3 separate regions of the Homo sapiens genome follow, and regions 1 and 3 are each linked to region 2. The links are contacts of gene promoters, found by promoter capture Hi-C in human tissues and cell types (Jung and others, 2019). All regions are on one chromosome and are shown on one strand. Each heading gives the region's core, a stretch centred on a gene start or on the middle of the fragment in contact. The rest is flanking DNA. Distances are from core to core; before and after follow the strand shown. Region 1 has its middle 120 kb from the start of GABPA. Region 2 holds the start of MRPL39 (mitochondrial ribosomal protein L39). Region 3 overlaps LOC105372757 (a long non-coding RNA gene).

Region 1 (4,523 bases), core at 1,549-4,048, 250 kb before region 2:
TCTCCTTTGGTTACCTCTAGGTGTAATGTACCATGTCTCCCTTTACCTACAGAAGGTTACCGCAAAGAGCATCTTAATGATCAAAAAGAGTTAGTGTGGCTGACTCTAAAAGAAAACCCCACCAAGCTTTTGAAAAGATACTGAAAGGACCAGGAATCTAGTGTGATACTTTGGGGTTTTCATCCTCTATTCTATAGTAAATAATGCCATGAGGTTGAGCATGAAATCAACCATGGCCCTAGTTTGGAAATGCAATGCCCACCAGTGGGTGCATAAATACACCAAGGTACAAGAGTCTCTAGTAGGACCTGCATTATCTTGTTTTCTTCTCTCTGTGGTTTGGGGACAAAGACCTTAAAGTGGGTCAGCAGTCAGTATTATAAAGATGCAAGCTTCTCAGGGAAAGCTCTCAGCTCAGACTGCACTCAAGATTCAGGGTTTCCTGAGGTCTACAAACGCAAATGCCTTTTCCAGAGCAGTAATTTAATATGTCATATTCTATTGTGGTTGGCGAAGTTTGCCCAAATTATCCCTTCTATGAAGCTGAAACTTGACCTCGTAGCTTTGTTTTTGGAAAATTCTTTTTGTAGTCTGAAATCAGTTGGCTTCCACTTTGAAAATAATCGTCTTTAAACTATATAAATAAACAAACTTCTGACAAAGTTACCCCCCAGTCTCAGTGGGCTTTGACTTTTCTAAAAGAACAAAGTTGGGGCCAGTGGGAGGCTGAGGATGGGCTGTTCCTAATGTTTTGATTTTGTAGGAGGTGTTTTGATTGCTATAGAAGTAAGCAGAATATCCCCACTGATCTCAATTACCATGGTCCCTTCATTAAAGGGTCCTGCCAGCATCACATCACTTCTGTGAAGAGAAGGTCTTGGCTCACAAAGCCATTCACACAGGGCTGTTTGACTCCCACTGGCAAACATCCCAAGGGAACTTCTGCTTCCTGGAAATCACTCTCTTTCTAATTCAGGGGAGAGAGCGCTCTCAACTGTTTTAAATGCCACCCTGTGCTCAGCAGGCTAAGGAAAGAAGAAAAGTTAATCGTTCCTTTCAGGACCAAAACTGAGCATCAAGGCAGAAATGGCAAAAAAGGAAGCAAGCTTTGAGATCACTGGGAATGTAAAGAAAACTAACTTCAACACCTACTGGTGTTGCTTCCCACCAATGTGCAGAAGCCCGGTGTTTCATGACCCAGCTGTTTCTCCAGTTCTCTCTGTGACTAGTGCTCCAAAGCTCCTGACCTCACCAAATAGGAAATGTTCAAAGATGAGAAAGACCAGAAGATCAGTCCCTGATCTTCAAAGTTACAACTCAGATGGGAGGACGGGGCGGAATAGGATATATGCACAAATAGCAACAAAACAAGGTACAGTAAGATGGTATGGATGCCAGTACAGCTCTATGGTCCCATGAAATAAGGAAACATTTCATTTGGTGCAGGGTAAAGAATGATTTCATGACATATGAGATGGATCTTGAAGAATGGATTGAATTTGCACAGGAACAAATGAATGCCTGTGCAGGGCAGGGAGGACTATATTTCTTGGAATACAGAAAATTAGCAAAGTATAAATGTGGGGAAGTGCCCAAGAGAGGGAAAGAGAACAGGAAGAAATCCACTCTGCACTTTGAGGTTGTCAGAATCTGTTCAGGAGGTAGAAATCACAGAGAGAACTTAATATTGTTACGTGTGTCCGTATAAGAGACCACCTGAGCAGGCTTAGTGTGAGCAACAGGGCTGTTTATTCACTTGGGTGCAGGGCTGAGTCCGAGAAAGGAGTCAGAGAAGGGTGGGATTATCATTGGTTCTTACAGGTTTGGGATAGGCGGTGGAGTCAGGAGCAATTTTTGCGGGCAGGGGATGGATGTTACAAGTACATTCTCAAGGGCAGGGAGGACGTTACAAAGTACCTTCACAAGGGCGGGGAGGATGTATTGTCAAAATAGCAGGGAGGAATGTTACAAAGTACATTCACAAGGAGGGGGAATATCACAAAGTACATTATCATGGGGGGAGGGTGGGGCGGGGAATGCCTTGGCTTTACCATGGTGTGGCCAGCTCAGAGGACCTTACGTTCCTTTTTATGTTAATAATGAAGAAATAAAACGAGAAAGAGTAATGAAAACTTGGGGTAAAAATTTTGGGGGCAGTATGGAGGGGTGATGGGCGACGTTTCTCAGGGCTGCTTTGAGCAGGATTAGGGGTGGCACAGGAACCTGAAGTGGGAGAGATTAGACTGAAGTAAGATTTTGGGGTAAGTTTGTGATATATCTGTAATGCTAGCAGAGGAGTCATTAGAGAAGCTGCAGACTGTTGTGACAGAGGTTGAGATGCCTGCTATTCCAGTTCCAAGTGCAATAGTGGAGGCAGAAAGTCCTAAATCCACAAGTAAAGGGATTAGTGGGATGACTCTTTTTTGTCGTGTTGGTGTCATGAGGGGGACTGGCAGTTGTTCGTTCCATCTGCAAGCTGCATTTTGGGGATAAGGAAGACTACAGTACATGTGCAAGTTTAGTTGGCAGGTAGGCACGTGTAGGTGGAAGAGCCACATAAAAAGAAGAGACCTGTTATTGCTCAATCTCGGGTGGCTGCACGCCACTTGTCCCTCTAAGAAGTTGGGGGATGCTGACCACTCAGGGTCGTGTAACTTATAAGGGCATCAAAGAATAGTTACCTACATATAAACTTGAGAACTAGATAAGTGAAAAGGCAGTGCTGTGGTGAACCACAGGGAGCTGAGGCAAAGAAAGATACATAATTGTGTGTGTGTGTGTGTGTGTGTGTGTGTGTATGTATATATATATATTTTTTTTTTTTTGAGACAGAGTCTCGCTCTGTTGCCCATGCTGGAAGTGCAGTGGCACAATCTTTGCTCACTGCAACCTCCGCCTCCAAGGTTCACGCCATTTTTCTGCCTCAGCCTCCTGAGTAGCTGGGACTACAGGCGCGCGCCACCATGCCTGGCTAATTTTTGTATTTATAGTGGAGACGGGGTTTCACCATGTTAGCCATAATGGTCTCGATCTCCTGACCTTGTGATCCGCCCACCTCAGCCTCCCAAAATGCTGGGATTACAGGCGTGAGCCACCACACCTGGCTGGGAATTTTGTATATTTTTTAAGATAATTTTTTTCCAGAACATTAAAGTAATTGAAAAATACTGGCCGGGCACAGTGACTCACACCTGTAATCCCAGCACTTTGGGAGGCCGAGGCAGGCAGATCGCTTGAGGTCAGGAGTTCGAGACCAGCCTGGCCAGTGTGGTAAAACACAGTGTGGTCTCCACTAAAAATACAAAAATGAGCCAGGCGTGGTGGCGTGCACTGGTAGTCTCAGCTACTCAGGAGGCTGCGGTGGAAGAATTGCTCGAACCCAGGAGGCAGAGGTTACAAAGCTGAGATCATGCCACTGCACTCCAACCTGGGCAATGAAGGGAGGCTCCATCTCAAAAAAAAGAAAAAGAAAAAAGAAAAATATTGAAAGTCCGAAAAGTAGGTGTATTAAAATTCACAATGTTATTTTTATTTTCCATTTTTCTGAGATGAAGTCTTGCTCTGTTGCCCGGGCTGGAGTGCTGTGACACAATTTCAGCTCACAACCACCTCTGCCTCCTGAGCTCAAGCAATTCTCCCACCTCAGCATCCTGAGTCGCTGGGACTACAGACATGTGCCACCACACCCAGCTAATTTGGTATTTTTTTGTACAGACAAGGTTTGGCTATGTTGCCCAGCCTGGCCTCAACCCCTGGGCTCAAGTGATCTACCCGCCTCAGCCTCCCAAAGAGCTAGGATTACAGGCATAAGCCACTACTCCCACTACTCCCAGCCCACAGTGTTATTTTAAGTTTAATATTTTACTTATGCCAAAAGCTAATTTGTTATCACTCTGTATCAGCTTAAGCTAAGTAAAAATTATTAAAGATCATCTCTTGGACAAGAGAAATTGTCAAACACAGTAATTCTCTCAACTAAAAATGAAATTAGCAACAAAGTAGATTTTGAATATATTATTGATGAGTTTGTTTTTATTAAAACCAGTGGCCCCAGGCTCTAATGTGGCTCAGCGGGCACTGGTCTCTACTAAAATTTTGATATTTTGTTCATTATGGGTTTTTTTTCATTTAATTTTGATTTTTTAAAATATTATATTTGAATATACAGTAATTTATCCTGATTCCTTAGTATTAGTGTTCCCTTAAATTTTGTTCCTGAGGCAGATGCTTCATTGACCTCACCCTCATCTCTGTCTTTTGAAAAGATAAAACAAGAACTAACAGCCTAGTAGGAACAGGCAGCAGGCAGGAGGCACACAGGACACAAACAGGAGGTGGAAGTCCCTTCTTCCTCCCTCAGCCCTGCTGCTTCTGTCTTCCTTCCCAAGTAGAGGGAGCCTAACACGGAGCCTGCAGGCAAAGTAAAAATGCAGGTTGCAGAATCCTGGCCCCAGCATCAAAATGCCAACTATGGAAGGATAGATTTGATGCCAAAAGGTAATAGCCTCATAACTGGCACAGAG
Region 2 (4,072 bases), core at 247-2,746:
GCACATAGTATTTTTTGGCCATTATCACTAGTGACAACCTTTCAACTAGGTTAATTTCTCATACCGGTGAACTCCAATTACCTGCCTCCAATGGGTTTGTGATCAAACTTGCTTAAGTTTATGTTCAGAGGCTTTGCTTAAATGTGGCTCTAAGATGTTCTAAGGGCACTAGAGTGTTTCTAGGTAAGGTTAAATGGGTACAGGCTCTAAAAGGCCGATGAAACAGACAGCTTTCATGGGAACTGTATGCAAATTTGAGGAAGCAAAAGATACACCCGCCCTCCAACACTATATGTATATATGTACATTTCGTGGTTTGAATTAGGATCTTAAATGAAATGTAGCCTGGTAAAATGTAGACTGGATGTAAATCCAAGCTCCGTCACTTACATTTCCCATTTTAAAAAGTGAAGATACTTACACTTTCCTGGCGCAGTGGTTGTGAGTGTAACATTTGGGCCAAGGAGACGGTCGATCTATCGTGGCGCAGGGTCATATTTGTACCTTAGGCGGCACTTCCACCTGGTGGCGGCGCATTCCAATTGCAAGGCAAAGGACAGAGTGGGGGAAAGGCTGAATTCGACACCCTTAAGTAAAGCCACAGAATTAAACTACTGTAAATGAAAATATTTCCATCCTGTACCTACAGAGTGCTTACTTCAAATAACACTCACGTCCTGGTAGGACAGAAAAATTAGACAATGAGCTGAAGTTTGCCTGCAAGGGCATTCATTCATTCATTCATTCAAGAAACATCTGTTGAGCGCTGACTGCGCTGTGCTCTGTTCTGGGCGCTTGGGATACATCAGTGAACTAGAGACAAAAATTCTGCCCCGGGATGCCTTCTCCTATACATCCTATACTATATAAACTAAACTAGAAAATTTGTAAAGAGCTCTTAGGAATTACAACGTCCTCTCCAAAGTCAAGGGGACGTGTTCCGAGGCCTCTATTACCACAGCTAAGGGGAGAACCGGGGTGCAGACCCACTCCAGCCGAACTAAGAACCTACCCGGCACAATTGAAAGTTAAGCCACGCGCTAGAGGATGTCATCGCTGACAAAATAGAAGACGCCTTCCCCATTCCCCCCCACCCCCGCCCCCGCCAAGAAAACCATATATTCTTTTAGGGAAGCAAGCGCTTCACCTGGGTGGCCGGGATCGAACCCGCGGAGGGCTGAAGGCGGAGGGCAACGACGCCTGTGGAACTCTGTTTCCCTGCAGAGCCTACGTGGTGGGCGGCAGGCCGACCGCCCTGGGGGCCCTGCACCTCTGGGTAGGTGACCGCGCCCAGGTATCGAGCACAGGTAACGCGCCCCGGCTCCGAGTCTCGGGGTCTCAGCCACTGAATCCCCAGCGAGGCCTGACGCCCCCCGGTGGAGGCGAGCAGTCTGAGTGCTGGGTCCGGAACAGACCTGTCCTGCGGAACTCCGAGTGCGCGTTCGGTTTCCGGGGGAGGAGGGCGGAGAAGGACTTGCGCGCGACGGTTCTCACCGCTGCTATGGAGGCGCTGGCCATGGGTTCCCGGGCGCTGCGGCTCTGGCTGGTCGCACCCGGTGGCGGGATCAAATGGAGTGAGTTTCAGAGGCCGTAGGGACAGGGAGCGAGGCCTAGATAGTGGTGTCTGTCTAGATTGGGTCTGAGGCGGGGCCGGGGAGGTCCCGCGGGGCAGAGGAAGGAGGAGGGTTTCTTAGTCCCTCCGCGGCGGTCGCTCTTGCACAGCTTGGGAGGACTAATTTATGGGAACGAGGGTCTGGCGGAGGGCAGGGGCAAGGGCAGGGGTCGGGGCCAGGGGTCGGAGCCAGGCCGCGGGAGGAGCTTGGGCCCGCCTCTGGGAAGCAGCGCACGTTCCGTGCACATCTGTCCATGTCTTCCCAAGGAATACTCGTACTTGCCTTGGCAGGTTCCCTGATTTGGCCTTTGGGATATAAACTCAGCATTTCTCATTCTGGATATTGATAGTTTCGGTGTGGGACCTTTGGTTTCCTGAAATTTTCTTGTTTTTCTTCAGACCCTGTCAAACCGACCACTTTGTTCACCTTCCCAATGACTCTAGTCCAGTTTTGACTCCGTTTCCTGGTTACTTTTTGCCCCTTATTGTAAAGCACTGATTGGAAACACGACACAGGAAATTGGTGGGAAATAGCGATCTGATGTGAAAGAGCCAAATTTAAAAGTAGAGGCACGTATCTGGGCCAGCTCTGTTTCTTCCGCTGGTGTTTGTTAATATTACAAATTGGTTTAATTTTACCTCTGAGCGCACTTTTGGCAGTACGTTAATCATTTTTTCAGTCTTCATATTTATTGTAACTTCTCCACAGGATTTATAGCAACATCGTCAGCTTCTCAGCTGTCACCGACAGAATTGACAGAAATGCGGAATGATCTCTTTAATAAAGAGAAAGCCAGGCAGTTATCATTAACTCCCCGAACTGAGAAGATAGAAGTTAAGCATGTTGGGAAAACTGACCCCGGTACTGTCTTCGTGATGAATAAAAACATTTCAACTCCCTACAGTTGTGCCATGCGTAAGTAGCAGAATCAGGTTACAGTTTTGACCCTTTTACTTAAGCTGTGTGGAAGCACTGGTGCAGGAGACAGGATGCTGTAATTACTTCTGGTCATCTGTGGCCATGGCAATCCCTTTATACCAAAATCCTTTCTTGAGACCTGCATGGTGACTGCTCCCACCACATCACAGACCTAGCTAAAAAGAGCAAGCAAATCCCAGCTACTTGGGAGGCTGAAGCAGGAGGATAGCTTGAGGCCAGAAGTTCAAGACCAGCCTGGGCACCATAGCCACCCTGTCTCTCAAAAAATAAAAATAGAAATAAATTAGCCAGATGTGGTGGGCGCAGAAGTCCCTGGACTTCCCAGAGGTTCTTTATCTGGCACCTTATTGTCTATTCACTGTCCCTGTAGTTCTGGAGGGTACTCTGAGTATTGCAAGGTTGGCACTGTAGTGCACAGATTGTCCTGCCTGGCGCTTGTTTGAATCTGGCTTTGTTTATGGTACTAGATAATTTTCTGGCAGAAGGTGACCAGACCTGAGTGCATTGTTACTAGTGTGCTTTCTCCTTTAATTTAATTTAATTTTAGAGATGAGGGTCTGGCCCTGCTCCCAGGCTGGAGTGTAGTGGTACTATCATAGCTCACTGAAACTCCTAGCCTCAGCCTACGAAGTAGCTGGGACTACAGGTGCCCACCATCACACCTGGCTAATTTATTTTTATTTTTGAGAGAGAGGGTGGCTGTGGTGCCCAGGCTGGTCTTGAACTTCTGACCTCAAGCTCTCCTCCTGCTTCAGCCTCCCAAGTAGCTGGAATTTGCTTGCTCCTTTTAGCTAGGGCTGTGATGTGGTGGGAGGAGTCACCGTGCAGGTCTCAAGAAAGGATTTTGGTGTAAAGGGATTGCCATGGCCTCAGATGATCAGCTTTTTTTTGCCGCCTTTTTCTTTCTCCCCTCTTCATTGTATAGCCTAACTTAATCTATCATCTGCTTTCCACTTGGCTCTCTCTGTGTTGTATTTTTGTTGACATTTAGATGTACATGTGGTAAATGTGTGAGTGGGAATGTGCATGGGGTGAATGTGATTGGGGTAAAAGTATTTATGTATATCTTAAAGGAGACAACTGTGCCCCATGTGTGATTTTGTGTGGAAATGAAGGGAATAAGAACTTCTATATTTTATTTTTGATCAAAATGTTTTGATAGTACGTTTGATAGAACTGGTAATATTTAAATTAAAGAAGCCCCAAAACAGATACAGGCATGACTAGCTGCATTGCTTAAACTTTTGGAAAACTCAGTAACCATTCCATTTAAGTAATTAACAACTTTAGTTATCAGCTTAAACTGGCCTAGAGAGTCTACACTCACTCTTAATCTTCCTTCACTCTGGCATTTGAATTAGTACTTATAAATATTTACTCATTTGGTTTTCAAGTATTTCTGGAACCTCTGCGATATGATAGGCATTAGGACTACAGAGGAGGATAAGACAAAACTCAGGCCCTTAAGGAGCTTTATACACATCACATGTAGTGATGAAGCTTCTGAAGCATCCTCAGCA
Region 3 (4,443 bases), core at 1,866-4,365, 190 kb before region 2:
GAAGTAAGTTCTTAGGTTTGCAGCCATATGAATAGTTTTAAAAACTGACTTTGCCGGGCATGATAGCTCACACAGGTAATCCCAGCACTTTGGGAGGCCAGGACCAGAAGACTGCTCGAGCCCAGGAGTTCAAGACCAGCATGGGCAACATAGCGAGACCTCCATTTCTACAAAATATTTTTTAAATTAGTCAGGCATGGTGGCACGTACCTGTAGTCCTGGCTACTAGAGAGGCTGAGGCAGGAGGATGGCTTAAGCCCAGGTTCAATCATAGCTGCAGTGAGCTATGATTGCACCACTGCACTCCAGCCTAGGTGACAAAGTGATATACCCTATTTCTAAAAATAATAAAAAATAAAAAGCAGATTTGTTGATTTACCATTTAATTGAATGATGAGGCGAGCACATTGTCTATGTCATATTCAATCCCTGACATTTGCTGAAACTTCTTTAGTGATATAGTGTGTGGTTAATTTTTGAAATGCCCTGTACACTTTTTGTAAATACTCTCTAAAAATGTATGTCTGCTTGCCAGAGAGAGAATTCTAGGTATCTATCAGATAAAGCCAATGTATTTTGTAAATCTCATCCTTACTAATTTTGGTCCAATTTATCAGATTCTGATAGTGATATACTGGAATCTTACTACTATGTGGTTTTCTCTCTCCTGGTAATTCCATAAGAACTTGTTTCATACAGTTCTGGGTTTTATTATAGGTATATTCAGGTTCTCAATTATTATATTTTCTCAGTGGATTGTTCTTTCAATTATTATGGACTGATCTTTTTATCCCTATTAAATTCTTTTTGTCTTATATTCGATTTTGTATGGTATTAATATTGCTATGCCCCTTTATCTCGGTTGATACTTGAATGCTATAGCTTTTTATCCACTCCCCTTTTTGATAACTATTTTGAAATAACTATATATTCACAGAAACTTGCCACAGCAAAAAATGTGCAAGGAGGTATTTAGCACCCTTTTCTCACTCACTGTTCCCATTTTGCATAACTATACATCCCTTTATTTTTAAAATTCTAACCTATGCCTCTTGTAGGCAACATGCAGCTAGATTTTGCTTTATTATCCATTCTGATCATTTCAGTCTCTTTAAAAGGTGAGTTTAATCTGTCTACCGTTAGTGATTATTTACACAGCTGGAATTGTTTCTATTTTCTTATTCTCATTCTTTGCTTTTTCTTTTCCTGATCTTCCTGATCACCATACTTTTTATTTGCTTCATTATTGCTTTTCTGCTCTTTCATTTTCTTCTTGCTTAGAGGTATAATTTTATTTACATAGTCCATATTATTCTCACCAAAATATTTTATCAGTTTCCATATTTACAGTATTTTTGTATCTCAATGCCTTTTCTTTGGGTTCAGATTTTTTCCTGCTGAAGTATATCCTTTAATAGTTTTTTGTTGTTAGTATTGTTTTTATTTTATTTTTTATTTTTCTTTTTGAAATGGAGTCTCGCTCTGTCACCCAGGCTGGAGTGCAGTGGTGCCATCTTGGCTCACTGCGACCTCCGCCTCCCAGGTTCAAGCGATTCTCCTGCCTTGGCCTCCTGAGTAGCTGGGATTACAGGCATGTGCCACCACGCCCGTCTAATTTTTGTATTTTTAGTAGAGACAGAGTTTCACCATGTTGGTCAGGCTGGTCTCGAACCCCTGGATCTTGTGATCTGCCTGCCTTGGCCTCCCAAAGTACTGGGATTACAGGCATTAGCCACCATGCCCAACCAGTATTGTTTTTAATTAAGAAGACATCTGTGGCCAACTCTTAGTATAGCCCTCATTCTCTGGGTATAAAACACTAGGCTAATAATTATGGCCTTTAAGGTTATTTAAGATACTATTTCACTCTATGCATCTATCTTTGCTGATAATAACTTCAGTTATTAATATGTGGTAATCTTTTTTCCCAGTAACTTAAATTTTCCTAGTTTTACTATAATGTGTCTTATTTTGGTTTATTTTTCATTATTCTTGGTACTTGAACTACCCTTCTAGTAAATTTATTTTATGTTTTAACTTTTACTTTTTTTTTTTGCGACAAAAATCTCACTCTGTTGCCCATGCTGGAGTGTAGTGTTGCAGTAATGTGATTATGGCTCACTGCAGCCTCGAACTCCTGGGCTCAAGCAATCCTCCTGCCTCAGCCTCCTAAAGTGCTAGGATTACAGGTGAGAGCCACTGTACCCAGCCCTCTCCTAATTTAAAAACTTGTGTTTGAACTTGATTCTGAGAAAGCCTTAGCTAGTCACTGTTTAAATATAATTTCTCTACTCTTCCCTCCATTTTCTTTTCTGGACCTTCTTTTGAATACATGGGGAAAGCCTTCCATCTATCCACTATTTCTGCATGAATGGTTTCATCAACTAATTTTCTCCTTCAATTATGTCCAATATACTTTATCCAATTTCTTAAGGTATATTTATGATTTTTATTTTTCATATTTCTAATCAGTTATTTTTCATGTTTACCCATAGTTGGTTTATTTATGCCTATTTTGTCTTACATTTTTTTCTCTACCTTTTACTTTTTTTTTTTTAGAATATTTCTCTTAATTTTCCCTTGAAGTACCTTAAATATTTATGTGAAAGTCTTCTTTCAGATTGTCCTATTATTTTTATCTGACCCACATTTACTTGATGATGATCTTGCAGTTTTCTTTCTTGGCATTGCATTTCTTCATGCATTCTCAATATTTGGTTTGCAGGCTCCTTGGCTGTTTTTGCGTTTTGCTTTTTGCTTTCACTCCCTTCGGGTACTCAATCCTACTTGCCCACAGCTTGGACATTGCTTCCACTCACCTCTAGGGGGCGCAATGCAGAACCAAATCATTGCACAGGGCGCGGCTGGAGACACTGCAGTTCAGTTATGGGCCTCTGGGGGGCTCGTCGCATGCCGTTCCGGCTTGTGAGTCTGTGTCCTCCCTCTTCTTCAGGTCCACAGAAACCCAACTGTCGCAGAAACCTGAGTGGTAAAGTGTCAGCAGCAGGAGTTCTGAATAACATTTCAGGGGCAGAAAAACCGCACTGGCCTTTCCTTCAATGGTGAGCAGACTCTAGCCCGTCTTCTGCGGAGCGATTTATCCCGACAGAGCCCAACTCCGACCCACAACCACAGTCCTGGATCTTCAGCTCACTCATCTGTCTCTGTCCAAGTGCTGCTTCCCAGTCTACACAGACCCTAATTTGGGTTTTGAGCATCACTATGCCTTTTTATATCTTCATTTTATATTTTCACCACCACTGCTGTATGTTTAGAAAAGAAGAAATGTCCCAAAGAGGCTGGGCTCGGTAGCTCACGCCTGTAATCGCAGCACTTTGGGATGCCGAAGCAGGGGGATCGCTTGAGGTCAGGAGTTCGAGACCAGCCTGGCCAACATGGCAAAACCCCGTCCCTACTAAAAATGCCAAAATTAGCTGGACGTGGTGGCGGGGGCCTGTAATGCCAGCTACTCGGGAGGCTGAGGCAGGAGAATTGCTTGAACCCGGGAGGCAGAGGTTGCAGTAGGCAGAGATTCCACCATTGTATTCCAGCCTGGGCGACAGAGCAGGACTCTGTCCAAAAAAAAAAAAAGAAAAGAAAAAAAGTTCCACACAATGGAGTTAGCATCCACTTGAATAAGATTCTGTATTAATTCAGGATCAAAAGATTTGAGAGGAAAAAAAGGTTTTTGTTTGTTTGTTTTTTTGAGACGAAGTCTCACTTGGTCACCCAGGCTGGAGTGCAGAGGTGTGATCTCAGCTCACTGCAACCTCTGCCTCCTGGGTTCAAGCGATTCTCATGCCTCAGCCTCCTGAATAGCTGGGACTACAGGCACGTGCCACCACGCCGGGCTAATTTTGTACTTTTAGTAGAGATGGGGTTTCGCCATGTTGGCCAGGCTGGTCTCGAACTCTTGATCTCAGGTGATCCACCTGCCTTGGCCTCCCAAAGTGCTGGGATTACAGGCATGAGCCACCGCGCCCGGCCAAAAAAATGTAGTTTTAATGGCTGCAAGTTTTTGAAACTGTTGTTATATGGAGAGCATAGCAACTATGTCCTCTGATAAATAAGTTTGTAACAGCCCTGTGTTCAATGGCTAATAGGTGGTATTTTTAAAAGACTTGTAGCTCGTGAAACATTGTAAGTGCCTTGTGATTTGTGTTTGTGTGAAAACTGGAGCTTACTCCAAATTTATGTTGAAACTTATTATCTTTTCACTTTCTCAAGAATGACAACTGGGAAAAGTTAAAAACTCAAAGGCCAAATATTATGTCAAACCAGTAATGGAGGTACAGAAAACATCAGAAAAATAGAATATCAGAAGTCAAAGAGGGATTTATCTTTCCTAGTTCTATTCTCTACTGGATGGATAATCTTATTCCCTGGGGGTTGCTGGAAGAAGAGAGGTGAGTCTTACTTTTTTATAGCAAGTTGTTATGGGGG

What was found. The method cuts DNA at HindIII sites, captures the fragments that hold promoters and counts their contacts. A contact is called where the count stands out against the background at its distance.
Region 1: a fragment that was not itself captured here is called in contact with the fragment with the promoter of MRPL39 in region 2 in 1 of the 25 tissues and cell types used here (lymphoblastoid cells).
Region 3: a contact is called between a fragment that was not itself captured here and the fragment with the promoter of MRPL39 in region 2, in 1 of the 25 tissues and cell types used here (lymphoblastoid cells).

Annotation. Positions count from the first base shown.
Region 1 is chr21:25,853,881-25,858,403 of GRCh38, reverse strand. No RefSeq gene overlaps it. Among named protein-coding and RNA genes, the nearest start is that of GABPA, 120 kb to the right of the region's middle. The HindIII fragment of the contact is 4,098 bases long and covers 750-4,523 here.
Region 2 is chr21:25,604,905-25,608,976 of GRCh38, reverse strand. MRPL39 (mitochondrial ribosomal protein L39) reads left to right here and starts at 1,496. Exons shown (of 10, transcript NM_017446.4): 1 at 1,496-1,574; 2 at 2,322-2,528. The coding sequence starts at 1,502. RefSeq lists a silencer at 392-451 and an enhancer at 1,432-1,551. The HindIII fragment of the contact is 22,766 bases long and covers 1-4,072 here.
Region 3 is chr21:25,800,133-25,804,575 of GRCh38, reverse strand. LOC105372757 (a long non-coding RNA gene) reads left to right here. Exons shown (of 3, transcript XR_937622.2): 2 at 2,954-3,062; 3 at 4,228-4,425. Among named protein-coding and RNA genes, the nearest start is that of GABPA, 67 kb to the right of the region's middle. The HindIII fragment of the contact is 6,202 bases long and covers 15-4,443 here.